2 separate regions of the Homo sapiens genome follow, and region 1 is linked to region 2. The links are contacts of gene promoters, found by promoter capture Hi-C in blood cells and fetal thymus (Javierre and others, 2016). All regions are on one chromosome and are shown on one strand. Each heading gives the region's core, a stretch centred on a gene start or on the middle of the fragment in contact. The rest is flanking DNA. Distances are from core to core; before and after follow the strand shown. Region 1 has its middle 33 kb from the start of TMSB4Y. Region 2 holds the start of UTY (ubiquitously transcribed tetratricopeptide repeat containing, Y-linked).

What was found. Contacts are between HindIII fragments. The CHiCAGO score rates a contact against its expected background, and 5 or more counts as called.
Region 1: a contact is called between a fragment that was not itself captured here and the fragment with the promoter of UTY in region 2, in 2 of 17 cell types (M2 macrophages and megakaryocytes). The highest score is 8.7, in M2 macrophages.

What each region holds. Positions count from the first base shown.
Region 1 is chrY:13,733,604-13,739,517 of GRCh38, reverse strand. No RefSeq gene overlaps it. Among named protein-coding and RNA genes, the nearest start is that of TMSB4Y, 33 kb to the right of the region's middle. The HindIII fragment of the contact is 1,703 bases long and covers 1,904-3,606 here.
Region 2 is chrY:13,476,782-13,482,200 of GRCh38, reverse strand. It overlaps UTY (ubiquitously transcribed tetratricopeptide repeat containing, Y-linked), which reads left to right and starts at 2,168. Exons shown (of 30, transcript NM_001258249.2): 1 at 2,168-2,687; 2 at 2,884-2,947. The coding sequence starts at 2,536. MIR12120 (microRNA 12120) reads right to left here and starts at 3,024; the gene lies at 2,935-3,024. The HindIII fragment of the contact is 7,265 bases long and covers 1-3,675 here.

The DNA of each region.
Region 1 (5,914 bases), core at 1,506-4,005, 260 kb before region 2:
TAGAAGCAAAAGTTTAATGAAGTCTTAAATAATGTAACTTTTAATTAAAAATGACATTTCTAACTTTTGAGTGTCCTACTTTTCATGTGACATGCGTAATATACTTTTCAGTAAAATTTGTACTTATCATTTTGTAAAGTGAGACTTTTTTGAGGCAGTTTTTTAAACAAAGTTCAAATAAGTAATCGCATTTATTCTGAATTTCATGTTTAAATATGAAGATAAATCTACAGGTGCTCTTCAGAGTTACTGAAACTCTATTCTGTTAAAAGTCAGCCAGTCGCAGTGGCTCATACCTGTAATCCCAACGCTTTGGGAGGCGGGCGAATCACGAGGTCAGGAGTTGGAGACCAGCCTGGCCAACATGGTAAAGCCCCGTCTCTACTTAAAGTACAGAAATTAGCTGGCATGGTGGTGGGGGGCCTATAGTCTCAGCTACTCCGGAGGCTGAAGCAGGGGAATTGCTTAAACCCGGAAGGCGGAGGTTGCAGTGGGAGATCGCGCCACTGCACTCCAGCCTGGGCAACAGACTGAGACTCCGTCTCAAAAAACAAAACAAAACAAAACAAAACAAAAAAAGTCTTCAGTTTCTCTGATGTTTTCAAGCCTATCAAAATTTACACGGAGGCATATAAATACCAAGGTGTTTGGGGAGAAGCCTCTGGAAATTACAAAAGCAGATTTTTAACGGGAGACAGCGCCACACGCTGGCCATTTAAATGAAACGGGAAGGAAAGCACAGAACCCTCCGTGTGTGACAATAACCTAATTTTAGGACAAAGCTGCCCACTCTACGGCATATTTCTCACTGGGGTAGTCATGCCACAATCGCACTTAGCACCTACTAGATTACATCTAGTGTGGATTTAAATATTGCAAGCCATTCCTGCATCTCTACAGTCACACTGACCTAAATTAGGGAAATTAGTATAGCAGTTTCGAATAATTGTTTCCCTAGCTTTTAAAAACTTTCCAACTATTCCCTGCAAAATTAACTGACAAAGGTAGACTGTCTGTGAGTTACGTCTATGGAAGCCTCTGTTTGGAACCACTTTTTTTTGCAGCTGGGATTATATGCCTGTGCCACCATACCCCGGATAATTTTTGTAGAGACAGGGGTTTCACTATGTTGGCCCGGCTGGTCTTGAACTCCTGATCTCAGTTTATCTGCCCTCCCTGGCCGCCCAGAGTGCTGGGATTACAGGTGTGAGCCCTACTTCCAGGATTTTCTATAGTGGCTAGTGTGAACCAGCTGAAGAATATTCTATTCTAAGATTGAATTTTGGGTGTTTGAGAGTCTGAAAGCAAAGCTGACTCCCTTCCGGCCTCTTCTCATTGTTTCTGGGCCTCTGAATGCCCAGCCCTCCTCAGGCACTATGTAGCACATCAAAGTTGACTTTGAGTTCCAGGGAGTGCCAAAGCCAGGAGTTCAGTTTGCCTTTTTTCTTAGTAATCTGTGTTTCGCTGGGACACAGATGGACAACATTTGGATATCAAACATGGTAAATGGAGCCTGGGCAACATAACAAGACCTCGTATCTCCCCCTACCCGCTCCAGAAAAGAAAAAGTAAGGCAAAGCGGTACACGCCTCTAGTCCCAGAGAGCCTGAAGCAAGATCACCTGAGCCTGGAGATAGAGGCTGCAGTGAGCTATGATCGCACCACTGCACTCCATGCTGTGTGACACAGCGAGACCCTGTTTTCTGAAAAATGAGAAAACAGAAAAGAAAAAAAATGGTTAATGGGATTTGCCTAACGTTTAAGTGGGGATTCCTAGTGGGAGTGTTTCTCCCTGGTCTTTCTGGACATTGCCTGAGATAGCTCAGTTACCTAGCAATATGGTAACAACTTCTGTGCTCAAAAAGAGACTGAAGGAGAGGTATGGATATGTATTAAACAAGCTTCTTTTTCTCCTCCTGCAAATAATTATCATTCTGAATTGTCGAGCAGTCAGGTGGTATTTTTTCCTGAGAAACTTATTTCCAACGTCTCAATGTTTGTAATGCTTTTCACACATAGGGGAGGTTCAGTTGGTTCAGCTGAGAGCGTTCATACAGGCAGTGATGTTCCTGAGTTATTATACAGAGGAACCCAGTGAAGACCAGTGGCATGATTGGAGAACTGTCAGCTCACTCATATTAGTAGAATATTGCCAAGTGAATTACTGCTTCTTGCCATTATGCACAAAAAAAGAAATGAAAAGCAATCTAAGCCTTTTTGTATTTTCAGAGAATTAGGTGCACTTGTTCATTTTTTATTTAATATCAAAGGACTTTTTACTCTGGTCTGCAAAACTTTAAAATTATGACTGTCATAACTACCTACACAGAGATTAAGGATTATAAGATACTAGATAAATAGATAGATAGAGAGAGAGATATTTAGATATGTGTATATAATTTTTTTGTGTATATATATATATATATATATATATAAAATTTCCATAATTACAGGGACTGTTTGTAAACTCTATTTTTTCTTTGTTAATTTGTACATTTTGATTCTCATTATGTAATTCAAATTTCACAAAAATTATGTTTTCACAAACATTATAATCAATATTCATTATGATTTGTTTTTATATTTATTTATCCCTTCCATTGCTTCTTCTTTCTTACATTTCCATGTTTCCATCTGGGATCATTCCTTCTGGAAGAACTTAAATATATGTAATTATATTTAAGATTAATTTTAAGGAAGAACTTACATATATAATTACATATATTTAATATAATCTATCTGTAATTATATGTAATTACAGATAGATTAGATAGATACATAGACAGATAGATAATAGATATATTAATATGGTTCTATAGGAAATGTATTTTCTCAGATTTCTTGAGGGGATATATTGGAATGTCTTTTTTTTCATTTTTATTTTTGGAGAATACTCTTTTTAGAAGAGAATTCTAGACGGACAGTTATTTCCTTTCCTCGTTATTGTAGTTCATTTTTTCAAAGTAGAACAGGGGTATTTTCCATCATCTTGAACCAGAAATTTTCCCACTAATTGTACTTCAAGCCACTCAGCAGACCAGGGAATTACTTCTTGCTGAGGATACAAAATCTCCCCAACTGTTTTGCTCTTACCTTGTTGAGCTTATGGGACTGACTTATTCCCAAGACCCCTTCCTTTGAAACTCCTGTTCCTAAACAGCACATATGCCTAGATTTCCCATGTCTCTTCGCCAGTTTTTTTCCCTGGAGCCTCTTTTTGCATCCTTCTGGATTCGTCACCGTTCTTGAAATAATTCTGTTCCAGGTGATAGAATCAAAGGGCAAGTTGGACAAGGAGGCTTTGCATGGGAAAGAAGCCCATGCAGCAGGAATTGGGGATGCTCTTGCTCTACTTTACAGAGCCCAGTCAGTACTGGGGCTCTGACTTCTCCTCTCTATGCTGTAAAAACCAGAATCTCATTTGCCCAGCCCTGGCCTGGTGTCCACTTGGGTGAGGAGCTCTGGCCAGGTGTGGGTCATTTATTTTTGACCAGGGCCCACCACAGATCCTCAGTTTCCTTCCCAGAGATGAAGACTGCTTTGTGTCAAGCAGCTATACAATGAGCTAACATAAATAATATCCCCAAATCCACACTTCTAAAAGCTTCCACAGGGTCTATTTGGTTCAGATCCAGGCAGTCTTTTGCAGGCTCTATGTTTTCAGCAGCTTTTATTTAACTGATTGTCTTGGGTACTTTGCAATATGCCAGGCATGATTCCTGCACTGGGTGATGGGGGCAGCAGCTATACAAAGAGGCGGTGTCTACAAGTGGTTCTTGGGGCCTTTCCCTAGTTGCTCTGCAGAGCTCTAAGATTTGCATGTGTCTCAACCACCTCTGCCCTGAGCTTTTGCTACGTAAGACCATCTCCCTGTTGGGCTTTTCCATAGGGCGAGACACATGCACAATCCTGCCCCCATCACCCAGTGCAGGAATCATGCCTGGAATATTGCAAGTACCCAAGACAATCAGTTAAATAAAAGCTGCTGAAAATGTAGAGCCTGAAAAAGACTGCCTGGATCTGAACACCAGGTAGACCCTGTGGAAGGTTTTAGAAGTGTGGATTTGGGGATATTATTTATGTTAGCTCATTGTTCTCAACTGCAAAATGGGAAAAACATACCAACTTCATGGTGTTGTCATAAGTAATCACTGAGTTAATATCGGTGAACACCAACGAAAGTATTAGCTCTTATGTCTTTGCCTCTGGTCTGAAACCTGCCTTCTCAATCATCCAGATGCCTTCACAACCTTCTTTCTAAAATTAGAATCTACTATTATTGTTGCCTACTTTAAAAATCATGGCTAGAGCCCCCCTGCTGATGTGACAGTTGTTTATCATGCAGTAAGATTCTCTTTATGTTTTCCCCCAGCGAAGTTCATCTCTTTCCAGACCCACCAGTGTCAACCATGCTTCAGCAGAACTAAACAGCTGGTGCTTTCACATTGTCACCCCATGAGTGTTCCAGCGGTGGATGTTGTTCTCTCTCGTGAGTGTTAACATTCTAACACTGCTGAGTGTTTTCTTCATGGTGTTCATTTTTATTATGTTCGTCACACCTTATCAAGTCTTTGTTCACATGTCCATCTCCATTTCTACTTCTTATGGACAATGGCTTTTTCTGATAGGTGCTCAACAGATTCATTGCCTGGGACTGGAAATACTCAACACTCTTCGGTATGCAGCCTCTTTTATTCTTACATGGTCATGTTAACTTCTTATGGCTCCATAATATCTTTTATTAAAAAAAAAATTAGAGATGGGGTATCACTATTCCCCAAGCTGATTTCAAACTCCTGGATTCAGGCAATCCTCCCCTCTTAGCCTTCCAATGAGCTGGTACTACAGGCATGAACTGCTGCACCTGGCTTCAAAGCATCTTTGATACTTTGCTGGTGCAAGTATCAATTAATGCAATGACTCTGGAAGAGAGTCAGATGCCACCTTCAAAAAAACGACCACCCACATAGATGATGATTCCTCATTTTCACTCCTGGTGGAACGCAGCTAAAGCTACTGCATATGTATTATCAAAGTCTTGACAAACCAACTTTACAGCAGCACAGCTCATGTTAGCAAGAACCTTAACCAATAAAATGTACGATGATAGAACAGCAGATGCATAAACTCTTAGGTATTCACATACTGAAATATTGTACAGCTGTCAAAATAAATTAATGACAGAGATGGATACGTTAAACAAATGCCTCAATATAATAGTATGTGAAAGAAAATGCAAACAGACTATACATGGCAGGATATACTCTTTCTTTATAAAGTTAAAGGTAACTAGAAAAAAAGAGACACTTGTAGAAACAAATGTGTGCAATAGGCCAAGCACGCTGACTCACACTTGTAATCCCAGCACTTTGGGAGGCCAAGGTGGGTGGATCACTTGAGGTCAGCAGTTTGAGACCAGCCTGGCCCACATGGAGAAACCCTGTCTCTACAAAAGTAGAAAAATTAGCCAGACATGTTGTCATGCGCCTGTAGCACCAGCTACTCAGGAGACTGTGGCAGGAAAATTACTTAAACCTAGGAGGTGGAGGTTGCAGTGAACTGAGATCATGTCACTGCACTCCAGCCTGGGTGACAGATGGAGATTCTGTCTCAAAACAAACAAACAAATAAATGCAAAAAATCCATATAAAAAGGAAGAGATAATAGGCATAGATTATAAGATAATAGTGGACAAAACAGGAAGATTTATTGATTGTATAAGGCCTCTTTTGTTCGTGGCAGTGAGATTTTCGGGTGTCCATTATACTATTAACAATACCTAATTAAATAGCTAGCTAAATAGGTAAAATGGGCTATACCTGGAACAATGATGAAAATGTCATGAACCAGGAATTATGATTTATCTCACTCAGTATTACTGAAATTTAAAAATATAATGAAGTCAAAATACCAA
Region 2 (5,419 bases), core at 919-3,418:
TTAGTTGTTAGTTTCAAAATAACAATGAAAACACGTGTTACTGAGCAAAATCAGCTGGGATTTCCAAAACTCTCACTAGTGTTATAGTTTTTTGTCTGGAAGTTCTAAACTGTCCTCTCATTTAAACATCAAAGTTTAAATATATAATACCTATTTTTGGAGGAGGCAAATCTATTACTTAAAAAAAGATACCATTTCTTCACTTATAAAGGAACATTTCCCCTAATGCCATTAATAATTAACATTTTTGTAATATCTAATATCTGGAGGTATAACCAGTAAACTATTTGATACATGGAATATTATGCAATTTGTCTTTTGAAAACAGTAATCAACAGAGGCGTTTAATATATATGAGACTTTTTATAGATTCTTTACATAGAAAAATATACACAATTCCTCAACATACATATGCCATATAATATGAGAAAAAAAAATTAATCTTGGGATCCCAAAATCACTAAGTAACGGAAAAGTCAAGCTGGGAACTATGTCACTAAACTTGCCTCCCATTTTATTCCTAAATAAGATACGTACAAAGATAAGAAGCTACATACGTTCCTCACAACGTGCCCACAAGGAAATTCCTTGTGGACAAAGGACAGACCCAACTCAAAGTTATCCCTGTGAGGCGCACAAGAGACAACTGCATATCTGATTGCTTCCTCTGCCTTATTATTTATTTATGTAAAAATACAGAGTTACTAGCCGGACTAAATTCTGTATTCAGTAGGAGGCTGATCAAGGACTCAAAAGCATGCAAACTCTTGTCTCTTATCTACATTTTTTTTTTTTTTTTTTTTTTTGAGACGGAGTTTTGCTCTTGTTGCCCAGGCTGGAATGCAATGGTGCCATCTCGGCTCACCGCAACCTCCGCCTCTTGGGTTCAAGCGATTCGCCTGCCTCAGTCTTCAGAGTAGCTGAGATTACAGGCATGCGCCACCATGCTCTGTTAATTTTGTATTTTTAGTAGAGACGGGGTTTTTCCATGTTGGTGACGCTGGTCTGAAACTCCCAACGTTAGGTCATCTGCCCGCCTCGGCCTCCCAAAGTGCTGGGATTACTGGCGTAAACCACAGCGCCCGACCTGTCTCTTATCTATTTCTAACATGGAAGCCCCCGCTTCGAGCTGTCCCTCTTACCTGACCGAACCAATCATGTTTCCCTAAAACGTACAAAAGCAAGCTGTGCCCTGACCACCTTGGGCAAATGTATCATGGGTAAGTCTTGCAAAATAAACTTTTTAAATTGACTAAGACCTCTCTCAGATATTTGGGGTTCAGAAATAAATTCTTTTACCTATTATTTATAATTTTGGTTACAATTGAGAAAGTAAGAAAAAAGTGGTGTTTTTTTCTTTTCTAAGGGTTACTGCATCTTGAAAGTGTGATGAAGGTCTTAATTATTGTTCTTATAATTCCTGTCCACAGAAGCTCCTACTCTTACTGAGACCTCACGGAATTATCATTATCACAATAGAAATAAACATTTTGGGTTTGTGGAGTAACTTTTTTTTTTTTTTTTTTTTTTGCTCATCGTTTGTTGTTTAGATAATATCATGAACTGATAAATGCAGTTGCCACGTTGATTCCCTAGGGCCTGGCTTACCGACTGAGGTCATAAGATATTATGCCTTCTCTTTAGACTTGGTCAGTGGAGAGGAAATGGGCAAAGAACCAGCCTATGGAGGTGACAAGGCCTTAGGGCCAAAAGTCTTGAGGGTGAAGGTTTAGGGCCTGCGCAGCTTCCCTGCCATGCCCCGCAAGGTCTCGCATTCGCAAGGCTTGTGACAGTGGGAGCCTCATTACGGACTCTCCTAAAGTCCATGGTGTCCTCTTTTCGCATTTGCGCCCCGTGGGTGATGCCCGATGCCGCCCTTCCCATCGCTCTCTTCCCCTTCAAGCGTATCGCAACTGCAAAAACACCCAGCACAGACACTCCATTTTCTATCTTAATGCATTTAACTAGCACAACCTACAGGTTGTTCCATCCCAGAGACTACCCTTTTCTCCATAGACGTGACCATCAACCAACCAGCGGTCAGAATCAGTCAGCCTCTGTCATGTTCCTAGGTCCTTGGCGAACTGGCTGGGCGGGGTCCCAGCAGCCTAGGAGTACAGTGGAGCAATGCCTGACGTAAGTCAACAAAGATCACGTGAGACGAATCAGTCGCCTAGATTGGCTACAACTAAGTGGTTGGGAGCGGGGAGGTCGCGGCGGCTGCGTGGGGTTCGCCCGTGACACAATTACAACTTTGTGCTGGTGCTGGCAAAGTTTGTGATTTTAAGAAATTCTGCTGTGCTCTCCAGCACTGCGAGCTTCTGCCTTCCCTGTAGTTTCCCAGATGTGATCCAGGTAGCCGAGTTCCGCTGCCCGTGCTTCGGTAGCTTAAGTCTTTGCCTCAGCTTTTTTCCTTGCAGCCGCTGAGGAGGCGATAAAATTGGCGTCACAGTCTCAAGCAGCGATTGAAGGCGTCTTTTCAACTACTCGATTAAGGTTGGGTATCGTCGTGGGACTTGGAAATTTGTTGTTTCCATGAAATCCTGCGCAGTGTCGCTCACTACCGCCGCTGTTGCCTTCGGTGATGAGGCAAAGAAAATGGCGGAAGGAAAAGCGAGCCGCGAGAGTGAAGAGGAGTCTGTTAGCCTGACAGTCGAGGAAAGGGAGGCGCTTGGTGGCATGGACAGGTACGCACCTCCATCACCCGCCTGGTTGGCTGGCGATACTCTCCGGGAAGGCCTGGACGCAGCTTGCCCACGTTGATGACGGGGTCATCCTCAGCTTGGCACTCACCAATCTGTCGCTGTCGCTCTTGGACTCGGGAAGGAGCAAGTCACTGGCTTTCTCAGACCATTAACAAGCTCTGTGTCTCTCTCTCTACAGCCGTCTCTTCGGGTTCGTGAGGCTTCATGAAGATGGCGCCAGAACGAAGACCCTACTAGGCAAGGTAAAAGCAACCAGACGCAAAGTCTTTGGTCCGCACTTTGCTCTACCAAGGCCCCGCGTTCCTTACCGCCCAGCCAGTATTTATTTTGGCTCTGCTCCATGGCCAAGGGGTCGGAAAAGTGTTTCTTGCCTTTGCTGTCCCCGTACTCTGGAATACTTCGCCCCTTGCTCCAGACTCCCTTCTACTCTGAGGAAAAAAAAAATCGGACGCTTTGGGACCGGGCTAAACCGGGTCTACACCACATGCCTGTTACTTTAGGGCCTTTTGTTCCTGAATTTTAGCGTCACAAATAGTGAATGTGTACAGTTTTCAAAATTCATAACTTCCTGCTTCTTCCCCTCGCCTTTTGGTATTTGGCTCTTGGTGTCTAATTTTAAACATTTTTTTGCCTTTTTAAAAAAAATATCCCTGGTGTCCTAAGTGTAAGTAGCAAGTAAGTTACAGCGGTGAAGAGTTTGCAGTAGATATTTGACCTATAAACTGATGCGTGTATGTTTAGCCTGAAGTTTAGTGATTTGTTGACTTTTTTAGGATGCACAGTGCTGCAAATGTGATTTCATGAATGTGTGTGCTTTTTCCATTCAGGAACCTTGTTTCTTAGGTGTCATGCTCACAGTGGGAAGAATTTGTTGTTTGTGTGAAAAGTTGGCACTGTCGTTTAGTTAATGGCTGCTCCTATCAGCCAAGATGGCGGGTAAAAAGGGGGAGGAGCAATAAAGGGGGAAGCTTGGGAAGAGGGTGGAGGTATTAACCCGGAAACCTTAGCAAGGAATAGACCGTAAAGAGCGCTGACGTAGCTTCATGTTGCTTATTAAAAATTATTATTATTTAAAAGTAGAATTCTTGCGTTATCTCCAACATTGACAGCAGCATTTTTAAACCTATATGTGCTTATTAATTGCAGCATGTTTAGTTACTCCCACGTGAATTGTTGCGTAACTTGGCCCTGGAATATTCCTGTGTGTATCGTTTTTTACCCTCTCACCAAAATCTTGTTAAAGTATTTGTATGTTGTCAATTGGTCCCGTGAAATAAGAACGGTACAACAATCGCGCCATCTTTTAGATGCTGAAGCCAGTAGTTAAGAATTTCAGTTTATTATTGTATTTGACAAGGAAATACTAATTATTTTCTCAGGATGAACATTTTACTTACCAAGACGTTTTACTTTGTAGTTTAATTCAGTACAGACGCTGAGTTCTTTTACCTATAATCTCCTTTGTATGTTTGTTTTGGGGGCAAATACTGATCAGAAAACTAAAATGTAATATATATATGTATGTATAATGTGTATATATATAGTTAGTAAATCCACTTTATTTGACTGATAAATGAAACATGAGTTAAACTTTGATTATGCAAGTGAAAATAGCTTTATGAAAAACATGTTATAGTATCAATGATACGATTTAAGCAACAGTGACTCGATCTGCCTTAATGTTTAAAATAGTTATGATAATGAAATAAAAGTAATTTGATGTTTTCTGGGATAATGTGGGAAAATACTGGTTGAGAACTTTAAATCTTCATATGCTGGAGTTAGGATAAATTCTCAGTGGGTTGTGGTTAACATTTTAGTTTGGAATGAACTTTTCAGATAGACAATATGGGGTTTAAATTTTAAGGAATTTTTTTTTCACATATTGATCCTTTCCAATTTTGATTACAGTAACATTTTAAATATGAGAAAGTGGTTTCATTATGTTTGGGGAGAACTGTAGCTTCATAAAACACTGAGTAATGCCGTATATTAAACTGCAGTGACTTTTTTGAAATGAAAAAAATATTAACTCAATTTCACTTCATTTGGCTCAGGATTCTGAAGGCTGGGAAGTCCAGGATCAAGGGGCTGCGTTTCATGAGGGCTTTAGTGCTGCATCATTCTTTGGAGAAGGTGGAAGGGCAAGAAAGTATATCACAGTGCAAGAGATGGGGGATGCCTAACTCTCTGTAATGAACCTATCCTCACTATGACATTAACCCATCCATGAGAGCAGCCTGCTTATGATGTTGTCAAATCTTAAAGACATCATTTCACAACACTGTTGCATTGAGGATTATGTTTTCAATGCATGAACTTTGGGGGACATATTCAAACCATAGTACCTGTTCTCCAAGACAAATTATTCTACAGTATGTATAATAAAGTATTTTTTCCCTTTCTCACAGAGCTTTGCATATATCACTGTTTTTTAAAAAAGTTCTTAGAATGATCTATTTCACTGATATTTCAGTTTTTATTCGTATTTATGTTTTCTATGAAAGTTTTATTTATAGATTTTACTAATGTCAGTATTGTTTTACAAGCTTCTAAAGGTTTAAAATATTGTTATAAATATGCTTTTTTCCCTGTCAAGTTTTCTGGACATTGAGGATGCTCTATCCCAACGACTAGTTTCTCTGATTTTTTTTTTTTTTGACCTCATACGTGAACCCGCATATCAAACCATTAGGATGGTTGTAACAATAGAT